Regions from separate parts of the Homo sapiens genome. Here all the other regions are linked to region 2. Evidence: promoter capture Hi-C in 16 types of primary human blood cells and fetal thymus (Javierre and others, 2016). All regions are on one chromosome and are shown on one strand. The core of a region is centred on a gene start or on the middle of the fragment in contact, and the rest is flanking DNA. Distances in the headings are between cores, read along the strand shown. Region 1 overlaps EXD2 (exonuclease 3'-5' domain containing 2). Region 2 holds the start of PLEKHD1 (pleckstrin homology and coiled-coil domain containing D1). Region 3 overlaps GALNT16-AS1 (GALNT16 and EXD2 antisense RNA 1).

Region 1 (3,990 bases), core at 195-2,694, 250 kb before region 2:
GGATGGAGATGCCTTAAAATAGATTCATTCTCTGGTGATACTCCAGCTAACTGGTCTACAATAATCACTTAAATAAAGGATAAGAGTCCTGCTTTTGTTTTATTTTTGAGATGGAGTCTCACTCTGTTGCCCAAGCTGGAGTGCAGTGGTACGGTCTTGGCTCACTGCAACCTCTGCCTCCTGGGTTCAAGCAATTCTCCTGCCTCAGCCTCCTGAGTAGCTGAGATTACAGATGTGCACCACCATGCCTGGCTAATATTTTTAGATTTTCAGTAGAGATGGGGTTTCACCACGTTGGTCAGGCTGGTCTCGAACTTCTGACCTCAAGTGATCCACCCACCTCAACCTCCAGGTGTGAGCTACCGAGCCTGGCCAAGAGTCCTGATTTTTTTTGAGCATTTACTATATGTTGGGCATTTCAGAAAAAGGGATTTTTTTTATGAATACAAATGTATAATTTAAAAAAAATATAGTGTTATAAGTGTGTAGGAGTTATAACTTATTTTAAGAAGCAGTAAGTAGTTCCCTGCATTACCTTTCCCCATTCCTAATCCTTCTTCCTTCTTCTCCTCAGAGGCAACCACTTTCATTTCTTTCTGGTAATTATCATTATACTTCTAAATTACATGCATGCGTTATTCTTTCTTATTTATTTATATTATCTTTTGACATCATACTGTGGGAGATACGGTTTAGTACTCTTGCAGCTCCCCTGTCCCCGGACAAATACTTCTCTTCCCCATCCTCCCAATTTAGGTAAATCATCATTTTTATCAGGTTAATATACAGTATTTATATTATTTATAGCTGAGTCACATAGTAAACTGCAGTTACTTTTATTTCCCAGGATTAATAATTAGTATTTTGTTTGCATAGTGTTCCATGTACCTATTATTTCCACCCCAGACTCCTTATCAGAACTATGGATCTCCTCTGGGCTGGTTCAGACACACGTCAGGTCACTTACTTGTTTCATTTTCCCTTGGAGCCTTCTCTCCTAGAGCCCTCTATCATCTGGCTCCTCCCAGGACGGAGTGCACTCTAGGCCTGCTGCCCAACTCTCATCCTGGAATTTGCATTTACCATCAGCCTGGAATTCCCTTCACCTTTCTCTTTCATAGTAGATCCTCTGTTTTTTAAATTCCATGTCTTCTTCCTTTCTTGCCTTGGTGGAGTACATTCATAACAGTTTCTTGAGAAAGGGAGCATGAGCAGTAAAAAAAAAAAAAAAAAAAAAAAAAAAGTCAGTAACTGTCTTTTCTCTCAGGTGACTTAGTTTCTCCACAGATGAATCTTCTAGTATTCTATTCAAGAAGTGTAAGTCCCACTGCCTATATTCCAGTCACTGAGTGGGGGAAAGGTGCCAGTGGTTTTAACATTCAATGTGTAATCTCTCCCTTAATCCCCCTTTCTTCAGGTGACATTTTGTCCCTCCCTTCAGTTTTGCCTGGTATTACCAGGTCCAGATCCTCTGTGGTTTAACCATTATATGATTTAAACTTTTACTGTCTTTTGGGCTAGGGGAGGGATAGTTGTCTGGCCCTGTGCTGTAAAGGAGGAGATCAGGGTGTAAGTGTTCTCTATAGAGATTTCACCTTATCCTTCTGTTTCCGCCCTTGCCTTCACAGATACCTGGTGTCTCCATTCCTTATGCTTTCCTGGTCTCTGTGGCTCAAACTCATTTGAACTTAGGCTTTTTGCCATACCACTTGCATAGGCCTAGTTTCAACCTTGCTTGCCAAGTCAGTTACCACTTGTTCATCCTTGAGAAATGTTAACTGGTTTCCAAAGTAGCTACACCATTTTGTATTCCCACCAGCAGTGTATGAGGGTGTCGGGGTTCTGCATCCTTGCTGACATTTGTTATTGTCAGTCTTTTCCATTAGAGCCATCCTAGTAGGTGTGAAGCGGTATTTCATTGTGGTTTTGATTTACATTTCCCTTGTGACTAATGATGCTGGGCATCTGTTCATGTGGGTATTGGCCATTTGTATATCTTCCGTGGAGAAATGTCTATTCATACATATCCTTTGCCCATGTTTTAATTGGGTCATTTGTTATTTTATTTTTGAGTTTTAGGAATTCTTTGTATACTCTAGATCCTTTTCAGATAGATGATCTATAAAGTATTTTCTACCATTGGTTGTTTGAAGCACAATAGTTTTTAATTTTGATGAGCTCCAGTTATCAGTTTCTTTTTAAAAATCTCTTCCTTTAATTGCTTATGCTTTTGGTGTCATAGTCAAGAAATCATTGCCTCACCCAAGGTCATGATGATTGGCTCCTATATTTTCTTCTAAAAGTCATATAGTTTTAGCTCTTGCATTTAAGTCTGTGATCCATTTTGAGTTAATTTTTGTGTGTCTTGTGAGGTAGGGGTCCACATTCACTCTTTTGCATGTGGACCTCCAGTCATCCTAGTACCATTTGTTTCTTTATCATTAGAAAATAATGTGTTAGAGGGAACTCTAAAGTCTTCTCATTCAAGCACACATTCTTCTGTGGGAAACAGTCTGCTAATAGATATGTAGATTGTTGGATCTAGGTGGAAAATTTTATCCAAACTTGTTTTACTCTAAAAGTATAAATGATCCTTACTAATAGAATTATTCACTGGCTTGGTTATTAAAGGTGAAATAATAGAATTTTAAAGTCCTTACACTTTTTGTTGGGAAAAGCTATTAATTTTAGTTTTTTTAAAATTTTAGTTTTTTTTTTAAATTTAATTTAATTAATTTATTTATTTATTTTGAGATGGAGTCCCACTCTGTCGCTCAGGCTGGAGTGCAGTGGTGCGATCTCAGCTCACTGCAACTTCTGCCTCCTGGGTTCAAGCCCCAGGTTCAAGCGATTCTCCTGCCTCAGCCTTCCGAGTAGATGGGATTACAGGCGCGTGCCACCGCGCCCAGCTGATTTTTTTTATTTTTAGTAGAGATGGGGTTTCCCCATGTTGGCTGCGCTGGTCTCAAATTCCTGACCTCAAGTGATCTACCCGCCTCAGCCTCCCAAAGTGTTGGGATTACAAGCGTGAGCCACCACACCCAGCCGAATTTTAGTTTTGACCACGCTACTTTTTTTTTTTTTTTTTTTGAGATAGAGTCCTGTTCTGTCTCCTAGGCTGGAGTGCAGTGGCACGGTCTCAGCTCACTGCAATCTTCGTCTCCTGGGTTCAAGCGATTCTCCTGCCTTAGGCCTCCTGAGTAGCTGGGATTACAGGCGTCCACCACCACACCCAGCTAATTTTTGTATTTTTAGTAGAGACAGGGTTTCACCATGTTGGCCAGGCTGGTTTCGAACTCCTGACCTCAGGTGATCTGTTCGCCTTGGCCTCCTAAAGTGCTGGGATTACAGGTGTGAGCCACCATACCTGGCCCACAGTACTTTTCTTTATGACCAGCTTGCCTATCACCAGTTGCTTAGGAGAATGACTTACCACTATTAAATAAGTAAATTCCAGGAATGGGCCCTGTGACTTTGATTTGAGGCCCATGTTTGAAACCTATTTGTTTTTTTTGTTTTCAATATCATATTAATAGATATGGCAGTTCATTTCTGATTGACAGTCACACAGGCCTCTTAATGAATCATGATTTCAGCCATTCCAGAGGATGACTGCCTCCAAAGTGAATTTCATGTACTAGTTATCAGGCCTTTGTTAACTACCCTTCCCCCAAACTTGAGAGAAATCTGTCCAGCAATTTGGTAGTAGATAGAAACTTCACTGATTTATATAGGTGAGGATTTTCCAGCATTTAGAGTAAGTCATTATTTTAGCTATTTTAGTTAAAAACATAGGGAACATGAGAGTTAATCATACTATTCAATTTACTTTTGTGTAGTTTGAAAATTTTTATAATAAGAAGTTTTAAGGAAGTGTATGGTGCCCAGGTTGTCGTACATTTTGAATTAGGATCCTAAGAGTTATCTATTTCTTTGTGATTGACTTTGAAGTTTTTCTCTCTGGTTTGCCTTCCAGATTCCACTGATCTC
Region 2 (3,770 bases), core at 936-3,435:
TAGGAGCCCACCTCCCCATGACTGCTGTGGTACCCACCACACATGCTGCTGCCACCCCAGGAGCACACAGCTGTCACCCAAGGCACGTCAGATGCATGTGCCACCATGTTCCCTTGAAAAGTGCAAGCCTGTGTATGCTTTTTCCTCACATTTGTTACCTGCAACTCAAAGTCAGGGGCCCTTGACTGGTGAACTCCAGACCACAGGCTCCTAACACAAGTTTTCTAGCTTTCATCTTAGAAAAGCAGGACACCTGTAATCCCAGCATTTTGGGAGGCTGAGGTGGGAAGATCACTTGTGGCCAGGAATTCAAGACCAGCCTGGGCAACATAATGAGACCCCCATCTCTCTAAAAAAAAAAAAAGAAAGAAAGAAAAAAAGAAAGAAAGAAAAAAGAAAGAAAAGAAAAGCAGGGCTCCTAAAGTGGGAAGATTTCCAAGCATTAGACCATGTGTCAGAAATAGACAAAAAATATACAGAAAATGTCCACTTTGTACTCTGGCCCCGGGCTCTCATCATCTTCCCAGTCCCACCTCCTCCCACCTGATGGAGCCAAGCCCCGGGCCCTGTGTTAAGGCTTGGCCTGAGATGTTCTGCATGGGGGCCTGAGCCATGAGAGAAGTGCAAGGAATTCAGATGGGCACTTCTTGACAGTGAGCAACAAGGGGATGCTGTCTGAGCTTGGGAACCCCAGAGGGGGTTAAGGGAAGAGTACCAGGGTGATGATTAGCTAGAGTCATAAAATGGGGAGATCTAGCATGGCCTTGGGGAACATCTAGTGGGCGTCACACATCCAAATGCCTGCAGAGGGGCCAGGCAGGTCAGACAATAGGGGATGATGGGGCCTGTGGGGATGCGCCTTTAGGCATTACATTCAAAGACTTAAGTCTACTGTGCAGAGGTGGTAAGAATGATACAAGTGGTTGTTGTTGGGGGGCTGATTGACTATAAAGGGGCATGAAGAAACTTTCTGCAGGTGATGGAAATGTTCTGTCTGTTGCTTTGGGTGGGGTTACATCTTATATACCTTCATCAAAGAAATAACTTAGATGTGTGCATTTTACCATGAAGTATACCTCAATTTAAAAACTTGGGGCAAATTCATAAAGCAATGTGGATCTGGCTCTCGGGCTAACCATTTGTAAACTTCTGTTGCAATCCGACTTCCAGAGGCGTCCTTGGCTCCTCATCTTGGAAAAGCGCGACTGCGGCGTGGTCTGGCGGGCGGCCGCTCACTGCGCGGTCTCCACGCCTGGCAGGTGGCGCGGGGCAGGCAGCTGTGCCAGCCTAGCATTTCCACCTGCCGGGAGGAGGCGGTCCCCTGGGGCCCGGCCGGCATCTCCCTGGCCTGAAAATGAGCCGGTCACCCCAAACGCCAACTCCGAAAGGAGCGGAAGCGGATGGAACAGCTGGTCCCAGGGAGCGCGGGCCAGGCGCGCAGATAAATCACGGACACACACTGCACGGATAGCTCCAGACTGGCGTTGAGTGCCAAATGCCGACACAGACACGGTCAGGTTCCAGGAAGAGAAATCCGATCCGATGCGCGCTAGGCGGCGGCGGCGGAGCACAGTGAAACCCACCTGAGGGGGAAGGGTTGGGGGGAACCCAATCTTGATGGAGCCCCTCCCCATGCGGGCACTTTGGGCACTTCCTGAAGTCCTACCTGGCCACCCGCCTGCCCGGGGCATCAGGCATCGCCACTTCACTGGGGAGAAAAGCCAGACCGCCGCAGTTCACGGAGCGGTAGGAATTGCGGTGGAATTCCAGGCCGGAGTGTGTGACCCTACGCCCTAGCTCCGTCCTCTCCTCCACCCCGAGGCGAGCAGGTGTCTGCAGGAGTGCCTCCAACCCCATTGCAAAGCGGACGTGGCCCTCGTCTCGATGTCGGCGCTGCTCGCCGAGAGGGACCCCGGGGTGGTGTTGGGCGCGCGGGGCGGGGACGGGGACGCGCTGCGGCCAAGTCCCCGGGCCCTGCGACCCGCAGGGACCTTCTGGACGCACGGAGCCCGGCCCTCCAGCCGGCGCCCGCCCTGATTGGCGCCCGAGGCCGGCCTCCCGCCGGCTCACCTGCCACTCCCAGCCAATCGGGGCCACCAGAATTGGGGCTGTCGCCGGGGGGGTGGGTGGCTAGGGCGGGAGGGGAGGAGATGCTGCCGGCCCGAGGCTGAGCCACCCTCCCCGCGGAGTTCCCGCCCGGCCCTCTGCAATCCGGAGCCCAAGCCGCCGGCTACGCGCCCTGCGCCCCCTTGGTGCCGCGTCCAGTGCCCAGCGCGCTTTGATGCTGCAGCTCCGGGCCGGGCCGCTCTGCTTCTCTGCTCGCTGGGACGCTCTCCGACGGCTCCGCCCTCGCCTCTCGCCCCGAGTCCCTGCTGACCCCGGGGAGGTGGGGTCCGGGCCGGGCACAGCCCCGCTGAGGCAGGATGTTCACGTCCAAGTCCAACTCGGTGTCGCCCTCGCCGTCCCTGGAGCAGGCTGACTCGGACGCCCTGGATATCAGCACCAAAGTGCAGCTCTACGGCGTGCTGTGGAAGAGGCCTTTCGGCAGGCCGTCGGCCAAGTGGTCCCGGCGGTGAGTGCGCCCCCGCGCCCCAAGGAGACCGCCGGGGAGAGAGCCTGGGCGTCGTTACCCCTCCCACCCCCTCCAGTCGCCGTCGTGCCTCTGCTTTCCTGTGTGACCTTGGCGTCACCCCTTTTCACTCTACACTGGCTCCCGCAGGAAAATGTGGACCATAGTCTGGGCCGGGAGAATGGAGATGGGGCCCCTGCCCTGGGGCGGTGGCAAATTCTCTATGGAATGAACCTGACCCTCGAGTGGGAATGTTGGGTGTGGGCAGAAGAGACCGTGGTCGGGGTGGGATCCCAGCTAGGTCAGATCAGGCCAGACTGAGGGGAGGCAGAAACTCCATCTCTAGCCAAAGATGCCCCCAACCCCGGGACCCCCACTGTCAATTCCATCGTCTTCACAACCCCTGACCCAGGCCGCGAGGACCGGGCCTGAGTGTCTCCCTCCCGCCAACCACCCACCCTTAAGACGGAGAGGGACCTGGCCCTTCTGAAAGGCTCAGGCTAAGGAGGGAGGAAGGGCCAGGAAGGGTGCTTGTCCATGGGGAAGTGACCTTGGCAACCCCTCCAACTGTCCCTTGAAATAATTTTTTTAAAAGTGAGCACAGGGAAGAGAGATTCTAGTGCTTCAGACGGAGGAGCTGGAAAGGAGGGAGGCAGCTGGAGTGAAGGAGGGGATAGATTGGTTCTGCCAAGGATTGATCCTCTGAAAGGGGTGGTGGAGAGAGACAGGGTAGTCCCAACCATCCTTCAGCCCCAGCTGCCTGGTCCCCAACTCAGACGCGACTCCGCGGACATCGGTAGCCACTCTCCACTTACAAATTAGCCTGGGAGGTATTGAGGGAAGAGGGAGTTCACAGCCCTGGACTTGCAGGAAGCTCCCAACTGGCTGCAGGTGCTGTGGGCCATTTTCTGGACAGTTTCCACTCTCCAGTCAATTTCAGTTCTGAGATTCACTACTGGTATGGCCTGGAGAATGCAGACCCTGTCCAGCCCTTCCGCGGAGGTGTGACCCTTCCAGGAAACCAGGGGTATCCAGATGCCCCTTCCCCATCCCACACTCTATGAGTCTGCCCCTGAGCAGAGGGGGCCTCCAATGTTCCCAGGACCACAGATCATGTGGATGTGGTAGTGGTGGGTGCTGATGTTCTGTTCTGATGAATAATTTAATGTTTCTATAAGACCGCAGAACAAATGGAGCTGTG
Region 3 (3,502 bases), core at 889-3,388, 240 kb before region 2:
TAACGTGTTCTTACCCATCCATGAGTGCTAAGACATGAAGAACTCACAGGGAGACAGGGAAGCATCTCCGGAGCCTGTTTTGTATAACCCTGACATGCCTTGGACTTTGTCCTGCTTGCCTTTGCCTTTGCCTGGGCATCAGCTAGACAGACATGTGCAAAATGTAAAGTTTGCATTTTATAAGCTGCTGAAGACATTTCTTTCTATATCTCCATCCCCTATGACCTGACAGAAAATACAATTTCTAGTCCATCCTTGTGCTTAGTTTCAGTCCCAAAGTGGATTGGCTTTTCATTGTGTAACACAGATTTGTATCAAATGTGTTCATCTTGGAGCTCTTTCCACAATAATCACCTAGATCTAGACATGAGCCCCTGCTTTTACCAAATTGGGGTCCTTTTGTTGTTTGTTTCAGAAAAAGTAGGCAGCTAGCCAAACAGGAAGCTCAACTACATTTCTCTGCCCTCTCCTCGATGGACCCTAACTTTATCTAAAATTCTGAAATTTCTCCTTATATCCCATGGAATCAACTAAAGCCCTGTTGGCTGGCTTCGTTTCTTTTTAATCACGATATGTATGTTTGGCCCTGGAGGTTTGGTAAGCCTGAGCTGTTGCACATATGGCTGCCTCTGAGTTCTTGGACACAATGAGCAGGACTAAAGTTGGCTACAAAAAGGAACAGAAGATGACTTAGGTTAGTTTTTCTTTTTTAAATGTTATACAAGTGCAGAGCACTTGGCTGCCATCCCCCTCTCAGACCATCAACAGAACTTGACCTTGGCCAAGATTTTGCCTCATCCTCTCGGCATTTCAGCATAGAGTTGCGTTTCAGCCATGGAATGCTTAACCAAAAGCACATGCTGTAGTGGTGGTTTCCAAAGAGTAAGTTTTTGCAAAAAGTCCACATAATGTTTCCTCATAACAGCAGCTTTCTCTGAACCACCAACCCAACAAACCTCTAAGTGGTGATTTTTTGGCTTATTTGTCCACAAGGACTGTGATTTTTTGTTTTGTTTTTAGCAATACTTTATTAAAGTGCAGTATAAGTAACATATGATAAAGTGCACACATCTAAGAATACAACTCAATGAATTTTGACAAATGCATATATCCATATAACCACCAGGGGCTGGTGTTTTTAATATTTTGTGAAGCACCTATTCTAATGATGTACGTTTTGGGATTGGAAGGTTGTGCATTCTTCTAGCTGAGAAAATTACTATAAAACAGTAAATCCAGATCAAAATGTGATGAAGATCCACCTGCCACAGAGAAAGTATTAATAGAATATAAGGCTAGGGTGTAGGAGAAGTGGCCCAGGAAAGCCATCCATGCAAATTTTGTTTCCTTCCTACTTGAGAGGGTTGGGGATGAGAGGTCCGTCCTTCCCTGGCTCATAAGCCCATGAGTTGTGTAAAACACTGTTCAGTAAGGCAGAATATAAGTCCTCTTATATATTGAGTCCAGACAGTTTTCCCTTTTGTCACATCTAGTGGATTTGGTTATTGCAAAGCTTCATGTTTGTTTTTAGTAAGTTAATTTTTAAAAATAGGTAAAATGTGCACATAGTATAAAATTTTTAAAAAACATATAATGAAAATCGCTCCAGTCTTTCTGCCCTCCTTGAAGGCAACCAGTGTTACTATTAATTTGCATCCCTCAGAGAGATTGTATGTGTGTGTGGTTTTGTTTTGTGTTTTAATTCCCAGGTTTCTTATTTGGTCGCGAACCAATAATATTCTCCACCCCTTTGTTTCACACTTTAGGCTCTAGTTTAGGGCATTTATGCAGAAACGTTTTGGATACTGCAGCCTGAGTAGGACTACTTCTTTTTGTTCTGTACCACGAAGTTCATCCTCTATATCTGTCAGCTGGTTCAAAAGTTCATGTTTCTCACAGGATTGGCCATGGGTTGAGAATCACTGAAGCTGTGTGTTTATCATAGTGGGCCCCCTCTCTCTCTATATATATATATATATATATTTGAAATTTTCCATTAAAAATGTTCTTTAAAAACTCAGTCTTTTGTTTGTTTTAAAGTAATGCTTAGTTGCAACCTAAAAGCAAACCATAGATTAATCTCTAGACAGAACCCCCTGCCCCACCATCCAAGTCAGACATTCAGAGTTCCCAATTTGCAAATTGTGACCTAGGATGGTTATTCACCTTTACAAGCCATCCTTCTGTTTAAACATAGGATTGACTTCAAATTTATTTTGAAAAGCCAGCTTCTCTGGCAGGTAAAATTTGATTTATACACTAATTCTTTCAAGAATATGAATATCATGCACAACAGAGGGCTTATATTCTGCCTTCTTGAACAGTGTTTTACACAACTCATGGGCTTATGAGCCAGGGAAGGAAGGACCTCTCATCCCCAACCCTCTCAAGTAGGAAGGAAACAAAATTTGCATAGATGGCTTTCCTGGGCCACTTCTCATAGACCCTAGCCTCATATTTTATTAATACTTTCTCTGTGGCAGGTGGATAAGGAGTCAGGTCTTCTCCAAATTAGAACTTCCCAAAGATACACAGTCCAGAGAAAGGAGCGAGGCTGTTGGTGTTTTCCAATTCAAGTCCCGTATGGTTTCCCTAGGGCCATTTTACCCTTGATGCCCTTTCATGCTCGCTCCTTTGTCTTGCCATAGTCTAAACACCCAAGGCCTCTCAGTCATCATTAAGAATATTCCCACTGGTCAGGGAGTGCCCTTTGAGCGTGCCCTTAAGAGCAGCTGTCAGATTTGAGCAGCATCTGCTTTCTGACAAGCTTGAAAACAGGATGAAGGAAGCCATTGAGTATTTCCCAGTGGAAATGGTACCACAAGCTGCCTTTGGGACTGTGTTCAATATGCGAGGAGTTTAGTGGCCTGGCAGCTTAGGTGGGGGTGGGGGATGTAAGTGTGGGTCATTCAGGATGGAGCAGGGATCTTCCCCATCCTGAATGGTCTCAGCCATGTCATCCATGCAGGGTCCTGATGCTGGAATCCTTCCCTCTCCCTCAGCCTTCGGCTCCAGCCTTTTCTGGGCAGGGAAACAGAATGAGGCAAAATGCCTGGTGTGTTTTAAATAGATTCTTCTTGTGGCAGCCAATGAGTCCAACAGCTTGGAAGGTGAGTGACCCTTCCCGAGAGACTTATGTTGTGCCATTTCTCTTGTCCCTAGCCCCTGGAATACTGACCACCTCGACCCCTCCTGCTGTCCTCCCCTTCGACCTAAACTCCAGTGATGTTAGCCATCCTCCTGCTGCTCCCTAGATGGACTGTCTTCAGGCTTTTCTGGTTTTAGTATTTATTACACTTCCCACTTGGCTTTTTCTGTCCCCAAAGCTGATTTTCCTCGTGCTATTTGTCCACTCCACCCAGTGCACATCCCCATCTGCTGCTGCTTGTCTGACTGTCATGGCTTCCCGATGATCTTCTTGCCTCCACCTTCCCGTGGCCTGCTTGGGGACAGCCCAGCCCCACCTGGGCCTGTGTGCAGCTGGGGAGGCAGGAGAGGCTGC

Evidence for each region. The method cuts DNA at HindIII sites, captures the fragments that hold promoters and counts their contacts. A CHiCAGO score of 5 or more calls a contact.
Region 1: a contact is called between a fragment that was not itself captured here and the fragment with the promoter of PLEKHD1 in region 2, in 1 of 17 cell types (M0 macrophages). The highest score is 5.1, in M0 macrophages.
Region 3: a contact is called between a fragment that was not itself captured here and the fragment with the promoter of PLEKHD1 in region 2, in 7 of 17 cell types (M1 macrophages, M0 macrophages, megakaryocytes and 4 more). The highest score is 9.2, in M1 macrophages.

What each region holds. Positions count from the first base shown.
Region 1 is chr14:69,230,694-69,234,683 of GRCh38, forward strand. The region is part of intron 5 of EXD2 (exonuclease 3'-5' domain containing 2); the gene reads left to right. The region is part of intron 2 of GALNT16-AS1 (GALNT16 and EXD2 antisense RNA 1); the gene reads right to left. Among named protein-coding and RNA genes, the nearest start is that of GALNT16, 27 kb to the right of the region's middle. The HindIII fragment of the contact is 6,270 bases long and covers 1-3,990 here.
Region 2 is chr14:69,482,543-69,486,312 of GRCh38, forward strand. PLEKHD1 (pleckstrin homology and coiled-coil domain containing D1) reads left to right here and starts at 2,186. Exons shown (of 13, transcript NM_001161498.2): 1 at 2,186-2,572. The coding sequence starts at 2,424. The HindIII fragment of the contact is 7,160 bases long and covers 1-3,770 here.
Region 3 is chr14:69,247,104-69,250,605 of GRCh38, forward strand. All of the region lies in intron 2 of GALNT16-AS1 (GALNT16 and EXD2 antisense RNA 1), which reads right to left. Among named protein-coding and RNA genes, the nearest start is that of GALNT16, 11 kb to the right of the region's middle. The HindIII fragment of the contact is 1,254 bases long and covers 1,512-2,765 here.